Regions from separate parts of the Homo sapiens genome. Here region 2 is linked to region 1. Evidence: promoter capture Hi-C in human tissues and cell types (Jung and others, 2019). All regions are on one chromosome and are shown on one strand. Each heading gives the region's core, a stretch centred on a gene start or on the middle of the fragment in contact. The rest is flanking DNA. Distances are from core to core; before and after follow the strand shown. Region 1 holds the start of CCNJ (cyclin J). Region 2 overlaps ZNF518A (zinc finger protein 518A).

Region 1 (5,591 bases), core at 183-2,682:
TTTTTCTGAAAGTGTTCTTAAATAGGCCCTGGACAGTTATTTAGAAGCCAAATTATTATAAAGTTGTTTAATAGTCATGAAATGGAACCCAAGGATGTAGACACTATTTAAATGCCATTAAAAATGGCATGAAGCTTTTAGCCTGATGTGTCTACCTTCACTCTAGAGGACCCTGCAACTGAGAGACAGGCCAGGGCAGCCTTCTCCCTGGACTATGTCGGGTTAGGCCGGGATCTGCCAACTTCAGCTTCTGAGTTTCCCTTTTCTTGCCTTTGGTTCCTGCGGGCCTGCTCTCCTGGGTATAAGCATCGTCTATGGATAGGGTACGGCTCATATACATGTCTGCTGATGATCTTCAAATGAAGATGCCACCCAGAATCACATAAAATGTATTTATCACTTTGTAGTAGTTCTTTATCATCATGTATCTTTTTGGACAAAGGATTCAAAGTAAAAGGGGTGAAGTTTTAAAAATATTTACGTTTTACTATTAAGAGATTGATCTCCAGTCTCAGAAAAGTGGACAGTCTCACTGTCCTAGGGTTACCATCCACCTCTTTTGTGATAATCCACCAAAGAGGTTAAAATACAATTGATTAGGTTTCCTCTAATCACATTTCAGCCCCCATATCACCTCAATTGACGTCGGAGTGTTCTCACAGTTTTGCAGTTTCCTGATTTACGAGCACAGATGGTTAATTACATCCACCATGGGTTTGACAAGCAAGGTTACTAGAAGTAATCTTAAATGTCTTCATTCAAAGCTCTTGGGAATCCCTACAGCAACGAAAATAAGGAGGGGGAAGAGATTAATTAGGTTTCTAGAAGAAAGGTGGAGTTTGAGGTGGAACTTAAAAAAAGAGCATAATTTCACAGGAAAAAAAAAACGCTTCAGGGGCTGCAGAAACAGCTAAAGCACATTTGGAGGGCCTGATGATCCACGGAGCAGCCCCTGGGATGGAAGCGGTTGGTGCAACGTGAAGTAAGGTAAACCGAATCCATGCCGTGAAGACTTTTAAACGCCAAACTGAGGCGTCGGAACTTTGCTCCGCGGGCATCGAGGAGCCATCGAAGGTTCTCAGCAGGTGAGTGGCCTAACTGGATTGGTCACTGCAGTGATCCACCTTACAATTTCTCCGGCGCTCTCTGCCGACCTCAGCCGGCGATCAGGCCGGCTTCGCAGTAGGTGGCGGCTGAGCGCCCCGGCAACCGAAGCGCCAGGCCAGCCCAGGCCACGCCGCGCCGTGCGGGATGCTGACCGTACCCAGGCGGGAGCCGCCGCGCCGCCGCCTGGCGCTGCACCTGGGCCCGGCCCGGCCGCCAATTGGACGGCTCGGGGCGACCCCGCTGTATCGCGAGACGAGATTGGCAGCGGCGGGGCCTCAAGTGCCCCCGCGCTGGCTTTGTATGCGGAGCCGCCTGCCGGTCCTTTAACAATGGGCGGCGCGAGCGTCCAGGCGCTGGGCTCTAGCTGAGGCCGGCGCTTAGCGGCCCACTGTCCGCAGCATGAGCGGGGCCGGCGTCCGCCGCACGACGGCGGGGCTGGGGCTGTGAGGGCCGCGGTTCCGGGTAAGGGAGCCAGCGTGGGGCCGGGCGGCCCGGCAGGCCTGGGGTAGGCGTGGGGCAGCGGACCCTCCCGGGGTGAGGCGCAGAGCCTGGCTGGCCCGGCCTTTTGTTCCCCTTTCTGAGGCCGCGCGGAACGTGCGTTTCTCGGGGCTCCCGGGGAGGAGCAGGCTCCCGACGTCCATGCGGAGACCCGCGGCCAGGCAGACGCTCACCCCCGGGCTTTGCCATGGGAGCGTTTCCCCTCAGCGGGGCTATGAGCGTGTCACCTCTCCCCGCTCCTCAGGGAGGGCGGGAGAACTCCAGCCCCGGACGCAGGGAGCCCCAGCCGGGCCTCCCCCAGCTCTTCCCGAGCTCGCACCTGGCTCCGCGCTTTGGCAACTCAGGGCCCGAGTGGATCCCCTTTTGCCCGACACATAGTCGAGCAGTGAGTCTCAGAGTCCTTCGGCTCTTCCTGCGGGGGCAGACCCGGCTTCGCGTGTGGCGTTGGGGGAAACGACTCGGGTCGGGCTGGGTTGAGGAAGAGTCAAGTGAAGATGAGCAGCCACACCGGGTGGCCTGAGGTCACACCCCCCGGGGAGGGGGCGCAGAGGGTCGCGGGGGAGCCGGCAGTGACCGCGCCTGGGGTGTGTCTTACAGACTCGAGTTGCCGCGTCGGGCTGGGCGCGCCGCCGGGTCCCATGGAGCTGGAGGGGCAGTGGTGGCGAGGACAGCTGGCCGCCGATATTCACCAAGCGCTTCGCTACAAGGTAACTCCGAGGCCCGGCCTGCCTTCTCCTTCTGTGTGTCGCGCCAGTTGTTCTGAATCTCGGCTCTCTAGAAGGTCTAGTCAGGTTCTTTACTCACTATCTTCCGGGCCAGAAAAGGCGAGTTTGCTCATTTGCTCAAGGTTAATTAACTTCTTGGCTCCTTCTCTGGGATGTATCAAAAGAACCTGCAACCTGAATGAGTAGGGAGATGGTAGTTGGGCCAGGGAAGGTGGAAAGGGGCGTTCTGGCTTCCAGGTGGGTCATGAATTTGATCTTGTATTTTAAAAGATATATACACTGAATTTTTGTTGGGCAGAACAGCCCTCTTTGTTCGAGAGTTGCCGTTGCATGCAGCCAGTTTAAGTCGCTTTTGTACATAAATTCCTCAGCCTTTCCGCTAACTTGCCGTGAGACGTGGACAAGTGAAATTTCTGTTTCTTGATTTCCTCATCTGTAAAATGAGGAATAATGAGTGTGCCTTATGATTCTGGCGATTGTGAAACTTAAGTTAGTACCGTACATGTGCTTAGAAACTGCTCTTGGTATATAGTAAGCACTAAGTGATAACTTCTTATCACTTACCCCTCAGGATTTGGGCTGTTCAAAAGCCCTAAAGTGGAGGGAGTTGGCTGCCCCTTCCTGCTGATATCAAAGGCAGAAAGTAGACTTAATAGATATTGGAAAAAAATACTTTTCCAACACAAAGCAAAGTCTGTGTATTGTTGCTATTAAGTAACGGTTTTACTCTGCATGTGGCAAGGCAGATTAATGAGACATTTCTGCCTCTTCGATAACCAAAAGAGAGACCAGATCCAAAATGATCTCTAGCTTAACTCAGTTTCACCTTGGATAAAGAAAGCCATTTGTTAAATGTAGAAAATTGAGAAAGAAGCAAAACAGCTGACTTTCAATAAAAAGGATTCTGACTCTTGGGGTTGAGATCCTGGAATGATAATGAACTTTTATCTTGAGTTTCTGACCAGGTCAAGTAGATTGGAAAACCTAATTCTGACTTAAATTGTTACCCTTTTCTAGGCCTGAGATTTCTAAATGCTACTTAACTAATTCTGACATTCAGTCTCTTAGATTCACTAAAATACAGTTCAGCCCCCTAGGAGATGGTTTATACCACATAAAAATTCTAACTAATGGGATCTCTGGAGTGTTAGTTAGGAAAGAGTTGCAGTTTCTTGGAAAATTGTCCAGATACACTTTTGATCTTTTTTTTTTTTGGCAGATGTCATCTTTCAATGTGAAATGTTTTCTTTTTTAAAAAAATTAATATAGTTGCACATATTTTGAAAAGTGTTTTAAGTGTCAGCCTTTTTATCCCTCTGGTATGTAGTGAAATTAATTAGTTGATATTAAGAGTACTTTTTTTTTGAGTTGGAGTTTCACCTGACCTCAGGTGATCCACCTGCCTCGGCCTCCTAAAGTGCTGGGATTACAGGCATGAGCCACTGCGCCCAGCCAAGAGTATATTTTTTAATTGGCATGAAACTTAAAAGGTTTTTCTTGGTGATTTCCATACTTTTCAATCATTTTATGTGTAGATCATTTTAATTCGTGAGTGATTATCTGCATTTTGTCAATTGAGTTTGGACATGGGTTCTTTGTTTTTTTGTTTTTTCTCCTAGATTTAGATTTGTTGAAGGCTTTTGTGGATTAGTTTCTGGAGCATCCAAGGCATAAGACCCAACCTTATACTCACTCAAGTTGCTTATGAACTATCAGAGGACAAGGTAGCACAGGGTGTGAAGGAATGCCACTGAAAGTTTTATTGGGCCACCTATGGCCTACTGCCCTGGGTTGTCTTTATGTTTAAGCATTATGCAAACCATGGTTCTTACTGGCAACACTTTATACAAGAATTTACATTAATCTGTAAAACTTAAACTTGTGGAACTGGAGAGACCACTGTTTGTAATACACTGAAGGAAACTTAAAATGGACTTTTCTCCTAGAAAAGACGTGGTAATTCCAGGCTATTAATTGGTGATTCAGTCGGATAGTCATCTGTTTTTCTTCAACATGTTGATCATTTATGACATACATGATATCATGCCAGGTGTTAGAGCAATAACAGTGAACGAGACATGATCCTTGCCTTCATAGTCTAACCTTATCTATAATTTAGAGCATCCACATTTAGGTCTTCCTTTGGGCAGTTGCCATTGAGATACTGCAGAAGGTATTCTATGTTTAGGCCCTAGGTTTGTGGAGAAATATTTGGTGTGACTAGCATTGTGTTTACTAGGGAAGAGTGAAAATGACAATGAATGGAAATCATGCCAACTATCCACTCCCTCAAAAAACCCCTACAAAGCAGCTGTCACCTTACACCCTTTTGTCTCCTTTCTTCTCATTATTTTGCTGTGTATAGTTAGTGTCATAGGCTGTTTGGGAAAGTGTTTTTAGGAGCCTTAATGACAAATGGGAACAATTCTAGCTTTGTGAGAAACATTAAGAAAGTGAAGTCCATCAGTGTTTTCCAGGTGTTTCCAGGGAGTCTTTAAGACCATGTTCAGGCCACTTTTTGGGAAAACCTGCTCTGGTTTTGCCTTTTTTCCCCAACTCCCTAATCCCTGAGCTAAGTTAGATTTTCTTCCTAGGTGTTGCCATAATAACCTGTGGTGACTATATTGTGTGATAAGCTCTGTATTTGATTCACCTGCTAGAGATAGGCTTGAGACTGTTTTTCCAGCTTTTATGCCTGGGTTAGTATAGTGTCTGCTGCATGGGAGATGCTCAATAAATGTCACATGGTGGCAGCAAAGGTAAAGTTGCAACTCACTTACACCATTGTAAAGATCCAAAGAAAGAGTTAAGGAGAAAAGAAAAATCCTAGGAACTACATGAGAAATCGGCATCTTCCCTTTATGTGGAAAAAAAAAATTTTTTTGGCCAGGCATGGTGGCTCACACCTGTAATCTCAACACTTTGGGAGGCTGAAAGCAGGTGGATCACTTGAGTCCATGAGCTGGAGACCAGCCTGGGCAACATAGCGAGACCCTGTTGTACAGAAACTAACTGGGCGTGGCAGTGAGCGCTTGTAGTCCCAGCTACTCCAGAGGTTGAGGTGGTTGGATTGCTTGAGCCTGGGAGGTGGAGGGTGCAGTGAGCCAAGATGGCACCACTGTACTCCAGCCTGGGCTACAGGAAACCCTGTCTCAAAAAACAACAATTGATGTATTCTTTGGCTACACTACTAAATTACATTGACTATTTTATCCATTTATCTTAGGTAATATTAAGTTAGGTGAATATATAACTTCCCTT
Region 2 (5,591 bases), core at 2,195-4,694, 120 kb after region 1:
ATATACAGATTGTTGGCATTTGCAAAAGGAAGCATCAATAGTGGACCCAGAGGCAGTGCATAAAACCTTAGGATAGATTCCTAAGGGACATGCCCAACAGAGTTTTAAAATGGATGTTTTCATGATGACAACAGAATCATAGATTTAGATTTTTCACCTTGTAAGTTTGGATCAAATTTTGCTGGTTCTTTGGATAATGGAGTTCTTGTGTTAACAAATTACGTGCTATATGATTTTTTGTTACATTGTTACAAGTGTTAATGACATTTTCATTAATGGATGAAAACTTCAGGGCTTCTTTTCTGTATATAACAAATTAAGTCTGTACATATTTTTGTACCTTTTATGTAAATTTTGCACAGAAATTTTTGGCATAAGTTTATTTTCTTTCAGTTTAGTTCAGTGCATGCACTAATAAAACTGGTTGTTTAATTTAAAAGGAATATATAAGACTTTACCCATGTTATTTTCTTGGTTTTTATTTCAGATGTAGATTTTGTTTTTGAGGTAAATTCGTTCTTCAGGGATTGAACACTATTGTTAGCAAGTGCCTAAAAAAGATGTGAAACAGTTTACATATGTCAACTGTAACAGTAGGTCCCAAATGGGCCCATTCCCCTAATAGTTTTATTTTTAAAGAAAGCCATACATAGAATGCTTCAAGCTATCTTGCTATGCACATTATACTTGTACTGTTTTGTGCAGTTTGTCTACTTTCTTAGTGAAGTATTTTTTGTATAAAATGTTACAATTGTGTTTCTTAAATTGAGCCTAAGAATGGAGTTAATTGGAAATATACAGTATATATTAATAATGTACATGGTGTTTAAAGAATGGTAAGCATTGTTAATTTCTGTAATGAACATTTTCAATTAAATTTATCTTGTTTGTGTTTACACAATAATTTTTTTACTGTGCTAAAATCTGATGGAAATTTTGTTCTCTAGGAAATACAGATTTTAAAGTGTATGTGTTTTTTCAATGCTAGTTAACTCTACAAGATAGATAAAAGTGTGGGATTTTTTTTCTTCCCAAAATCATAGATGATATATTGTTTAAGAAAGGTAACATATACCATAATTTTACTATGGTTATGCTGGCAAGGTGAGCCATAGAGAGGCTTATAGTCTTCAGTACCCTAACAGCAATAAAATTAAAATGCTCTGTTTGTTACATATAGATCTGTTATGAGACATCACCTGCTGTAAATAGCAAGGAGAGAGAAGGAACTTTCCTGCTAATATTCGCAGCACTATAACATTACATTTCAGAATAGCCATATCAGGAAAATAATGTCGAGATATGTACTTCTTGCCTTTAAGTTTTAACAGCCATTTAAAGTAAGCTTTGTGCTCCAGATATTCTAGTTGGAACTTTTTCTGATTTTGTTAACTTAAGTTATTCTGAGGGAGGCAGACCTGCTTAGAGTTTCATTATTGCCATTGCAGAAAATCCAAAACAAAAGCCTGTATCCTTTATTTTTTGTGTGTGGCTTTCCAAAGAGGGCTTTCCAAAATATGATTTTCAGTAGTTCGAGGTTCTTATTACAATTGAAGAGTTAGTTTTAGTTTTGCAGTTGAATTTCTGTGTGAGGAATTTGTTTTATTTTTTCTAGTTTGTCCATCTCCACTGAAATGGGTTTCTTACTATTTGGCAAGTACTTAAAAAACATAATTCAGTTTTCAAAGAATTTATCTTGCTAAGTATTCAGTAACACAAATTGAAATGTAATAGTTTTTTTAATGGAAAATATTTTCATTGGGGGGTTAGCAAATTTTTTCAATAAAGGGTCAGATAAATAAGCTTCGTAGGCCTTCTAGTTTCTGTCCTAACTACTCAATTCTCATAATGCAGAAAAAAACCATAGACAATATGTAAATGAATTAGTGTGGCTATGTTTTAATAAAACAATTTATAAAAACAGGAAGTGGGCTGAATTTGGCCCACCAGACATAGTTTACTGACTGTTGCTTGAATTCCCTAGAGTCTGCTTTCAGAATGGGATTTTTATTTAAAAAAACAAGCTTGATAAGTTTCGTGATGTACCTCACCTGTGTAAAAGAGCTACAAAGTACGAACTAAAATATGTATATAAAGTTTCTAGTATAGATGTATTTGTATAACAGTGAAGAGACTGTAAATGTAATGAAAATGGTTAGTGGGTAAAATAGGTCATTTGTGTGCTAAGAGTAGTGCAACTTATGAAGGGATTAAAAATGAGATAGAGCAGAAATGCTGTGAGAATTTATGTCCAGGTTAGATGGGAAAAGGACTTAGATATTCTTTCAGTGATTTGAAATAGCTGTTAAGAAAAAGTAATAGAAGTTCTTGGGGTGGGAGAAAATGGAGGTGAATTAAAAACAGAATATTATATACTAATTCCATACAGCTTATCTTGATTTTTTAAAAATAAGATTCCTTTTCACCATTGACATCTACTTCCTTCCTTAACTTTCTTAACAGAGCCATTTGGGGCGTTGGCTCTGTTCTTTGCCTTAGCAACTTGTTAGGATCCTTGCTCTCAGCATACTACCTTGACCCATTGGGGATCTCATCTAGCAAAACTTACTGGGGGGATTTTTCAGGGTGGTATTTGTTGCTAGTTAGCAGAGTATGGCATTAGTGGAAACTTTTTCCTGTAATGGAGAGTTGAAATGGTTGAGTTTGATGTTTATTAATTTATGTATGCCTCTCTTAATAACTGGAGAATTGAGAAGTAATTAGTATCTTGGAGGAAGTATTTCATGAAGTCATCTTTGAGGTGCTTTTTGACTAGTTTAACAAAGCTTCTGTTAATGCCTCCAAATTTAGGAATCTTTTTAAAACGAGAATAATTGTTACAAGAGTGGAAACTTTCAAGTAAATAGTGTGGAAAAAATATAATGTACATCAATTTTAGAAGTCATGAATTTAGGAGATGCCAAGAATGTGCTTAATTTAAATACTTTTTCCTAGTAAAGACATTTCTAATGTGTTAAAATAAGAATTTTTCCATATACTTCAAAGTGCTTAAACCAAAAGTAAGGGTTATGTTTATGTGGCAACTCATGAAATACATCTTTCAATTAAGGAGTGAAATGTTGCCTGCGATCATCAATTACATCATAAGCTATTGCTAATGTCAAAGAATAGGAAAGCAAAATGAAAGTTAAATTTGGGAGAGAGACCAAAATACTCTTGTAGATGACTTGCTTTTAATATCTTGGAAGTTTAAAGGAGTACACTGAAAATTAGTTACTTTCCTGAACAATTAACAGTAATCAACTGGGGAACAATAAAAGAAGACCCATTTATTTATTTTTCGAGATGGAGTCTCACTCTGTTCCCCAGGCTGGAGTGCAGTGGCACAGTCTTGGCTCACTGCAGCCTCTGCCTCCCGGGTTCAAGTACCGCTCCTGTAGTGGGATTACAGGTGCCCACCACGATACCCAGCTAATTTTCATATTTTTAGTAGCGATGGGGTTTCACCATGTTGGCTAGGCTGGTCTTAAACTCCTGACCTCAAGTGATTCACCTGCCTTGGCCTCCCAAAGTCTGGGATTATAGGCATGAGCCACCATGCCCAGCCAGTAAGACCCGTCTATAATAAGAGGCACAAAATAATACAAGCCTGCCAAAAAACAACAACAACCAAAAAAAAAAAAAAAAAAACAGACACCAAACCAAACCTGTAAGATATAACTGGGAGATACATAGTATTTCTGAGTGGAAGACTAAATATACCTGCTTAGCAGATTACATTTTTAGAACTTTGTCCCCCACCCCTACCCCCATTACCCTCTTCCTCTAACAGAGCTGCTTTACAGGGAGGATTGTGGTTTGGGCATTCACTGAAGAGCTGATTTACCATTCTTTCTATCCTCCAGCTGTTCCATAGCATAAAGGTACAGAGGTTCTGTTCAGTGGAGGGTTGGAGTAAGCTTCAAAAACTGACAACACATTATTACAAGAGGCCTGAATTAGGGTTTTTCAGAGATACAGAACCAATATGAGGGCATGTCTTGAGGGAATTAGGTTATGTAATTATGGAGGCTAGGAAGTCCCACACTAGGCTGTCTGCAAGCTAGAGACGTAGTGATGGTGGTAGCATGACTCAGTCGAAGTCCAGAAGCCTCAGAACCAGGAAAACTGGTGGTGTAACTCTCAGACTGAGATAGAAGGCCTGAGAACCAAGGGGCCACGGGTGTAAGTCCTCGAATCCAAAGGCCTGAAACCCTGGAGTTCTGATGTCCAAGGGCATGAAAATAAAGCTGTCTCAGCTCCTGGGGTATGGCGTTAGGCGTGGGGGGAGGAAGTTAGTGGAGAGAGAATTAGCTTTTTCTCTTTTCCTTCTGTCCAGGCTCCTAGCTGTTTGGATTGTGCGTCAATCACATTGTGGGCAAATCTTCCCCATTCAGTGTAATGGCTCACATACCAGTCTCTGAAAACACCCTCACAGACACATTCAGAAATAATGTTTTACCAGTTGTCTAGGTATTCCTTAATGCATTCAAGTTGACACTGAAAATTAACTGTCACAGGGCCTGACTTTATTTGTAACAGACTTCAGAGTATTGTAGAAAACAGTAGAGCAATCAGTAACAGTGGAGGTTCAACAGTTGCCAGGTCATTCCAATAGATAACCAGAAGCTTAAAGAAAGGATCAGGGAGGCCAGGCACGGTGGCTCAGTCTGTAATCCCAGCACTCTGGGAGGCCGAGACGGGCGGATCACAAGGTCAGGAGATCGAGACCATCCTGGCTAACACGGTGAAACTGCGTCCCTCCTAAAAATACAAAAAAATAGCCAGGCATGGCAGCGTGCACCTGTAGTCCCACTACTCGAGAGTCTGAGGCAAGAGGATGGTGTGAACCCGGGAGGCGGAACTTGCAGTGAGCCGAGATCGCACCGCTGCACTCCAGCCTAGGCGACAGAGCGAGACTCTGTCTCAAAAAGAAAGAAAGGATCAGGGAAAGAGACAACCTAGATAAAACTACAGACATCCCTTGTGATCAGGAAGACTGTGCATGCTGAAGGCTGCCATCTCAGAGGACTGACCAGAGAGAACTTCTAAACTACAAGTTCCTGGCCAAATGAAGGGCAAACTTGTAAACTCCTTAAGTAGTGAAAGCAGTCTTCAAGCCATACATTAATTAGTCAAGCCAAGTCACTAAAGGAAGATGATCAGTATGCAGAGATCTGTGTTACCTAAAATGTCCAGTTTCAACACAAAAATTGAGATATGCAAAGAAACAGAAAAGTATGTGTCCTATATGACAGAGAAATGTAGGAAATATAAAGTTTTGAGGGATACCAAATTTAGGATAAATGCTAAGCAGCTGTTACAAATGTATGTTCAAAAGGCTGAGTGCAGTGGTTCATGCCTGTAATGCCAGCAGTTTGGGAGGCTGAGGTGGGTGGATCACTTGAGGCCAGGAGTTTGAGACCAGCCTGGCCAAAATGGTGAAACCCCGTCTCTACTAAAAATAAATTGGCCAAGCGTGGTGGGCGCCTGTAGTCCCAGCTACTCAGGAGGCTGAGGCAGGAGAATCGCTTGAACTCAGGAGGCAGAGGTTGCAGTGAGCCGAGATTGCGCCATTGCTGTCCAGCCTG

Evidence for each region. The method cuts DNA at HindIII sites, captures the fragments that hold promoters and counts their contacts. A contact is called where the count stands out against the background at its distance.
Region 2: a contact is called between a fragment that was not itself captured here and the fragment with the promoter of CCNJ in region 1, in 2 of the 25 tissues and cell types used here (heart right ventricle and spleen).

The regions. Positions count from the first base shown.
Region 1 is chr10:96,042,151-96,047,741 of GRCh38, forward strand. It overlaps CCNJ (cyclin J), which reads left to right and starts at 1,433. Exons shown (of 6, transcript NM_001134375.2): 1 at 1,433-1,569; 2 at 2,203-2,312. The coding sequence starts at 2,244. All of the region lies in intron 2 of ENTPD1-AS1 (ENTPD1 antisense RNA 1), which reads right to left. RefSeq lists silencers at 822-1,016, 1,144-1,713. The HindIII fragment of the contact is 11,661 bases long and covers 1-5,591 here.
Region 2 is chr10:96,161,839-96,167,429 of GRCh38, forward strand. It overlaps ZNF518A (zinc finger protein 518A), which reads left to right. Exons shown (of 6, transcript NM_001330736.2): 6 at 1-1,921. Among named protein-coding and RNA genes, the nearest start is that of ZNF518A, 34 kb to the left of the region's middle. The HindIII fragment of the contact is 3,741 bases long and covers 1,575-5,315 here.